2 separate regions of the Homo sapiens genome follow, and region 2 is linked to region 1. Evidence: promoter capture Hi-C in 16 types of primary human blood cells and fetal thymus (Javierre and others, 2016). All regions are on one chromosome and are shown on one strand. Each heading gives the region's core, a stretch centred on a gene start or on the middle of the fragment in contact. The rest is flanking DNA. Distances are from core to core; before and after follow the strand shown. Region 1 holds the start of AUP1 (AUP1 lipid droplet regulating VLDL assembly factor). Region 2 overlaps SLC4A5 (solute carrier family 4 member 5).

Evidence for each region. The method cuts DNA at HindIII sites, captures the fragments that hold promoters and counts their contacts. A CHiCAGO score of 5 or more calls a contact.
Region 2: a contact is called between a fragment that was not itself captured here and the fragment with the promoter of AUP1 in region 1, in 1 of 17 cell types (M2 macrophages). The highest score is 5.7, in M2 macrophages.

The regions. Positions count from the first base shown.
Region 1 is chr2:74,528,092-74,531,511 of GRCh38, reverse strand. AUP1 (AUP1 lipid droplet regulating VLDL assembly factor) reads left to right here and starts at 1,806. Exons shown (of 12, transcript NM_181575.5): 1 at 1,806-1,932; 2 at 2,013-2,150; 3 at 2,230-2,380; 4 at 2,577-2,761; 5 at 3,023-3,095; 6 at 3,191-3,264. The coding sequence starts at 1,883. HTRA2 (HtrA serine peptidase 2) reads right to left here and starts at 1,579. Exons shown (of 8, transcript NM_013247.5): 1 at 1,000-1,579; 2 at 691-895; 3 at 407-601; 4 at 141-173. The coding sequence starts at 1,505. RefSeq lists enhancers at 473-682, 693-772, 803-872, 893-1,022, 1,478-2,360 and 1 more and a silencer at 1,413-1,502. The HindIII fragment of the contact is 3,652 bases long and covers 1-2,809 here.
Region 2 is chr2:74,333,409-74,337,169 of GRCh38, reverse strand. SLC4A5 (solute carrier family 4 member 5) reads left to right here. Exons shown (of 31, transcript NM_133478.3): 4 at 2,993-3,143. Among named protein-coding and RNA genes, the nearest start is that of SLC4A5, 8.1 kb to the left of the region's middle. RefSeq lists an enhancer at 2,034-2,223 and a silencer at 3,726-3,761. The HindIII fragment of the contact is 2,553 bases long and covers 550-3,102 here.

The DNA of each region.
Region 1 (3,420 bases), core at 557-3,056:
GGAGATCTGGTTGGATATTGAGAGATAGCCAACAAAGAACTGCTCAGAAACTTGACCAAACATCCTTGAATTAGGGGAAACCTACCCTTCCCACACTGACCTGGGGCAGGGATTCTTGGAAGGAAGGATGTCTCACTCACCAGGTTAACCAGGGGACCTCCAGAGTTTCCAAACTGTAGGACAAGGAGAAAACATGAAAGAGATCTGGGGATTCTAAGTCTGGGGGCATACCAGGATGTAGGTACTTTCTCCAAATTCTCTTCTTTCTCAGCCCATGAATAAGTGGCCACATTTTTGCAGCCTAAGCTCTATATAGGCTCATCCACCATATATCAGTTGGTGCTTGTACCACACAGCCTCTCCCCCCTCCCCCATCATTTGTCATTTCTCTCCTATCAGGACGCACATCAATAGCTGCATCAGTTTGAATGTATTCCACATTGGTTTGGGGGAGTCCCAGGTCTCTGGCTGGACGCTGAGCAGAGCTAACAATGCCGGATGTGATCGTGTTCTGCAGTGCAAAGGGACTTCCCATGGCAACAACAAACTCCCCTTGCCGGACATCAGCTGAGCGTCCCAGAGGCAGCGTGGGGAGAGGCTCCTAAGGGAGAATGGGTAAAAGAGACCTGTCATCTGAAGATGCGAGCAAATAAGCAGCTCCAACCAGACCTGGCCTACCCCAGCCCCCACCTTAGTCTGAATCCTCAGCGTTGCGATGTCTGCCACGGGATCCACAGCTGTGACCACGGCCTCATACGTGTCGCCGCTTAGCAGTCTCACACGGACTCTGCGCCGATCAGCCACCACATGGGCGTTGGTGACAATGAGCCCATCGGCAGCCACCACGAATCCTGAGCCGTTCGAGATAGGGACCTCGCGGCCCAAGAAAGGGTGCCTGAAATGGAGGGAAAGCACAGATAAGAGGAGGCTCTGACCCCTCCTACCCGCCCGCCCTCCAGCCTGTGGCTTCAGTGCCTCCCGGTCTACCCCCACCATTACCGGTCCAGGATCTCGATATAGACCACGGCAGGTGCTGTCTTCTCCACCACATCTGCGATGAAGTTGTACTGACTCCGGGGAGAAGCGGGCGGCGGGCTAGGGACGGCGGCGAGGACGGCCGGAGGACCCCGACCCCCGCCCCACAACAACAACAGCACTGCCCCCCCAGCGCCCAGCGCCACCGCCAGCCACGCGCGCGAACGGGTTCCAGAGTTCTCTGAGGCCTCCCGGGTCCTGGTATCTGGGGTCACCGCAGTCAGTTGTGCCCGGGGACCCGGGGTCCCAGACGTCAGGCATGCTCGGGGTTCAGTGACCCCAACAGACAACCGGGCCCAGAGACTGGGGGTCCCATAAGTCACTCGGGCCCGGGGGTCAGAAGTTCCTGACGTCAGCAGGGCCCGGAGGTCAGGGGTCAAACGGGGTCTCCTCCCCCAGCGAATGCCCCCCAAAGCCCGCCATGCCCGAAGGCTCCAGCCTGCACCCCGCCCCGCCCTCGGCGCAGCCATCAGCTCCGCCTTGGCTGCCTCCTCGCCCGCCCTACTCAGAGGCGGCACCCAGGACGCGAGCAGGCGGACAGTAGGACGCGGGGCACGCCGGTACCTGAAGTCCTTCAGAAGTGCACGCCGGGACCAGGATTCCGGGAGGCCGACTCCTCCCTGCCCCACGAATGCCGGGAATTGTGGTCTCCGCCGGACGCGAGTTGTGAGACGGCCCAAGGGGCCGCGGGGTATGCTGGGACCGCTAGCCCTTCCGGCGCGCCTCAGGACTTCGGGTCCCCTCACCCCGGGCGGATGCCCAAAGACTCCGCCTTCCCAAGAGCCCCTGCGGCCGGGCGCGAAAATGGCGGCGGCGGCGACGGCCGGGCGCTCCTGAAGCAGCAGTTATGGAGCTTCCCTCAGGGCCGGGGCCGGAGCGGCTCTTTGACTCGCACCGGTAAGAGACCCGGCGGGAAGAGACCGATCCCCGCGTGCTCTCGGCCTTCGGCGCCTGACCACTTCGCCTCTCGCCCCCAGGCTTCCGGGTGACTGCTTCCTACTGCTCGTGCTGCTGCTCTACGCGCCAGTCGGGTTCTGCCTCCTCGTCCTGCGCCTCTTTCTCGGGATCCACGTCTTCCTGGTCAGCTGCGCGCTGCCAGACAGCGTCCTTCGCAGGTTCCGACGCGGGCGTTCGGGGAGTGTCAGAGCTGGGTCTGGCCCGAGGCCACACAGTCACCACCTCCTGTGTCCCCAGATTCGTAGTGCGGACCATGTGTGCGGTGCTAGGGCTCGTGGCCCGGCAGGAGGACTCCGGACTCCGGGATCACAGTGTCAGGGTCCTCATTTCCAACCATGTGACACCTTTCGACCACAACATAGTCAATTTGCTTACCACCTGTAGCACCGTGAGTGAGAGCGAGGCCGAGAGCGCCACGGGGCGGTTCCCTGGGGCCCAGCTGAAGGCCCCCCTGTCCCCACTCGCGTTCCCCATGGAGGATACTGAGCCTTACCCCTAACCCCGATCCTCTACCCAACATGTCAGTTTTTTTTTTCATTTTCCTCAATATTTTTCTTCTTGCTTTCTCTTCTCCTGGTTCCCAGCCTCTACTCAATAGTCCCCCCAGCTTTGTGTGCTGGTCTCGGGGCTTCATGGAGATGAATGGGCGGGGGGAGTTGGTGGAGTCACTCAAGAGATTCTGTGCTTCCACGAGGCTTCCCCCCACTCCTCTGCTGCTATTCCCTGAGGAAGAGGCCACCAATGGCCGGGAGGGGCTCCTGCGCTTCAGGTGGGTTTAGCACAGGTATGGGGCGCCAGCTGGGTAGGTGGTCAAGCTTGTGGGCCCTTGAGTTTTTACAACTTTCTTCGGCCCTTAGACCCCATCATCTCCAGTTCATTTCCTTTCTGTCCACTTTAAGTTCTTTCTCCTGAATCCCTTCATTCTTCAATTATGTGCTTGTAGAGTTTGACAGTTGCCTGTTATAAGGCAGGTGTGAGCTGCTGACTAGGCTGGCTGGATTCCCATCCTACTTTCTCCTTCCTCTTCTAGTTCCTGGCCATTTTCTATCCAAGATGTGGTACAACCTCTTACCCTGCAAGTTCAGAGACCCCTGGTCTCTGTGGTGAGTGTGTGTTGAACAGGGAATCTCTGGGGCTTGAAGGGGAAATTTCCCATCCCTGGCCCTGGCTTAGGCCTCATCTCATGCCCTCCCCTCAGACGGTGTCAGATGCCTCCTGGGTCTCAGAACTGCTGTGGTCACTTTTCGTCCCTTTCACGGTGTATCAAGTAAGGTATTAACTGTCCTCACATTTTGGTCGCTGGGGAGAGGCTCACCTCAAGGTCAAGGAATTAGTGGCCTCTGCCCTGTCCATTTGTAGATCTTTATATCAAGGTTCTACCACAGAGGCAACACAAAGTATTTACAGTATTTACTATTTTCCCACCCA
Region 2 (3,761 bases), core at 577-3,076, 190 kb after region 1:
GCTGCTTTCTCTGTGGGGCTCAGTCCAGGGAGCGGGGATTGGGACCTCAGCCTCCAGGACCTAGCAAAGTCAATGTTTCTCAACTTCCCTCCAGCCTTTGTCCTTGCCCTGGGGAATTATTCTTGGATATGAGTGAGGGGCAGGGAATGCCTTGATCTTTCTCATGACCATTTTCTCCCACACTTTGGTCTAGGTCTAGGCCAGAAGTCTCTTCTATTCCCCTAAGGAAAGAGGCTCCTTACCTCTTCTTTCTGTTTTCACACACCTTCCCTGCAGCAATGAGCATAGAATGGCCTGGCTATTTGAGGCAGGGAAGGGAGAGAGGTAAGGGGAGTATCAGGCTGGAGAAGGCATTGGCTAATATTTCAGAACATAATCTTGCAAGGCATATAAAAATATCTTATACAAGATGTGCTTCCTGTTTTAACTATTATGATTTTATAATTTTTCAGATCTTGTAGGCAAGACTCCCTATTCCCATCCCCCAGGCCAGGGCAGCCAGTTATCAGCTGTGTGAACTTGGGCAAATTATGTTATCCTCTCTAAGCTTTAGTTTTTTCGTCTGTAAATGAGGATAATAGTAGTTCATATCAGTGCTTCTACTTGCCAAGCACTGCTCTCAATGTTTCATGTATGTTACCTCATTTAATACTCATCATAAACCTATGGGATAGCTGCTATCATTCCCATTTTACAGATGAGGAAACCACTTCTCACAGTTGTAACTTGCCCAAAGTCATGTGATCTCCTGCTCTTAATCACTTCCCCAACCTGTCTTTCATAAATATTAATAATGACCTCAGCCAGGCGTGGTGGCTTACTCCTGTAATCCCAGCACTTTGGGAGGCTGAGGTGGGAGGATTGCTTGAGCCCAGGAGTTCAAGACCAGCCTGGGCAACATATTGAGACCTCATCTCTACAAAAAATTAAAAAGTAGCCTGGTATGGTGTGGCACCTGCCTATAGTCCCAGATATTTGGGAGGCTGAGGCAGGAGAATCGCTTGAGCCTGGGAGGTCAAGGCTGTAGTGAGCTGTGATAGTGCCACTGCACTCTAGCCTAGGTGACAGAGTGAGAATGCTGTCTCCACAATAAATAAATAAATAAATGAAATGACCTCTTGAGGTTGCTGTGAGGATTAATTGAGGTAAGGTATGTAAAGCTGTCAGCCCTGAGCCTAGCACATAGTAAAAACTCAGTACATTCTAAGCTCATACTTTAGCCATGATTTTTTGGTCATTTTCATTCAAAATGCCCTTGGAATTGTATTTAAAATATATATAAATGTCTGAACTTAAGCATATTTGCCCTATTCAGTTTTCCCATCCAGAAATATGATGTCTTATTATGTGTTTCTTAGCAAAGTTTTGCCACGTGTCCTCATATAAAACATGCATTTCTAGGCGAGTTTATTTCTAGATGTTTTAGGGTTTTTGTTTTTATTGAAAATGAAATCTTTTCCTCCATTGTATCTTTTGATCAGACAGTGCTGGTGTCTCCAGGTTCTTATTAGTTAATCAGCTCCCAGATGTCTCTAGAGGCTATGTCTTTCCATAGCCCTCTTATTTTAGGTTGACATGAAGATCATTTGGCCCAGCCAGTGACATACGCTCTGAGAGAGAGGCACAGGGGCACAGGGTGAGAAGTAGCTTTCCAGGGTAGCTCAGGTTGGCTGAGGTGATCAGAGAACTGTCCTTTGGCTAAGGAAGTACAGCCTGGGGAGAGGGGAAGGAAGGGGCCAGCCCTTGCTTGGCTGCATGCTGTTTCTGGGTCCATTTGGGGATCTGTCTGAAGAACGAGTTCCTAGGTACCCACATTTCCTCTGTGGCCTCAATGATTCCCAATAGTGTGTGCCAAATGATGGCTCCAGTGGCAGCTCTGCCAAGGCCCAAGATGCCTCCGTGGGCTCTAGCTTGCTTAAGTAGAGAGACTGTCATCCAGCAATGTCTCATTCTTCATCATGTGATTAAGAGCAGGAGATCACATGACTTTGGGCAAGTTACTTACAACTGTGAGAAGTGGTTTCCTCATCTGTAAAATGGGAATGATAGCAGCTATCCCATAGGAAGTGGAGGATACATAATCTGTGGCGTCCCTGAATCAGCTCCCTGCCTGACTCCACTGCAGACCTCCAGAGGGCAGCAGAGAGCAGGCAAGACGGGAGAACAGGACTTGGTTCCTGGAGAAGCAAAAAAGACTCTCTGCTCCTGCAAGCTGCTAGGAATACTGCTCATCCCCCTCCCCGCCTCCTCAGGATACACATGTGAGCTTCTTCCTGAGGGTGTAATAATTATAATAATATTATTAGTTAATACTAACTATTCCCTGTGGGCCAGACATTGACCTAAGGTTTCACATTGATTCAGATAACCATTGAGGTAGATATAATTATTATTCGCATTTTTTTTCAGTTGAGGAAATTGCAGTGAAAAAAAAAAGAAGTTGTCCAAGATGCCACAGTTAGTTGAGTCAGGATTTGGACCCAATCATTTATGAGCCAGGCTCTATTCTAGGTATCAGAGATACATCAGTGAATAAGACAAACTTTCTGCCATATTGGAGGAACAGACAAAAAGTGAACAAATGAATAAACACATACTGTGGTTTTGGATAGAAATGCCATTTAGACAAATAAAGCAGAGTTAATGACCAGAGAGGGGCATTTTAGATGGGCTGGTCAGGGAAGGTTTTCTTGGGTAGATGGCATTTGACCAAATAGTTGAATACACGAGGTAGCAAGTCAGGCTGAAGATTAGGGAAACAGTAAGTGCAAAGGTCCTGAGGTGGGAATGAGCCTGGGGTGTTAGAGGAACAGCAAGACTTGCGTCGTGGCTGCTGTAGAGTGAGCCGAGTCCATAGGCCACAGCAGCGATTGGGAAGTAGATAGGGGTGGTGAAGAAAGAGAACTCCTCCACAGCATCACCTGGGCTTGGCCTCTTACAATGTCTCAGCTTCTCTTTAACATATCTCTCACCTTTTTTCACCTTCCTGCAGAGTGCTGACACCATCACAGTATGTTCCCTTCTCAACCCTGGACATGGTTCAGAAACAGCTAAAGCAGACAAGAATCTGGGGCAGCCAATATTGTACCACCTGCCAAAGCTTGGCACAAACAATCTGGAAGCCAAAAATTGCACATACTGTGGTGAGTACTGCCCAGCCTGTGGGGAACTTCTTGTGGGTAAAGGTTCTAGATAAGCCTGCCAGGGCCCCCAAATGAATCCTTAGTCCCATTAACAAGGGCCTAAGTCCCGCAGGCCTTTCCAGGGTAGGAAGCTGCTATTTTCTTCAAAGAATTTTGCCCCCATGCCATGGTCCTAGGTCAGACCTACCTAAATCCTTTCAGATGTCAAACCCAGGTAGGGTTCAGATGGCATTTAGCCAGGAGATGGAAGGGAATCCGTCCCAGTGAGCAGCCATCACTGTCCACCAGGTATCTGAAGAAAATGGAGGCACAGAGGTCAAACAGTCATCCCTCAGCATCTGCAAGGGATTGGTGCCAGGACCACCCGTAGATATCATAATCTGAAGATGCTCAAGTCCTTCACATAAAATGTGACCTATGCAATCCTCTGTTTATCTTAAATCATCTCTAGATTACTTCGAATACCTAATACAATGTAAATGCTATGTAAATAGTTTTTTATACTGTATTTTGGGAGTATTATTTTTTATTGTTGTATTGTTATTTATTTTTATTTTTTCAAATATTTTTGATCTGCTGTTTGTTGACTCCTTGGGTTAGGAACCTGTGGATATAGAG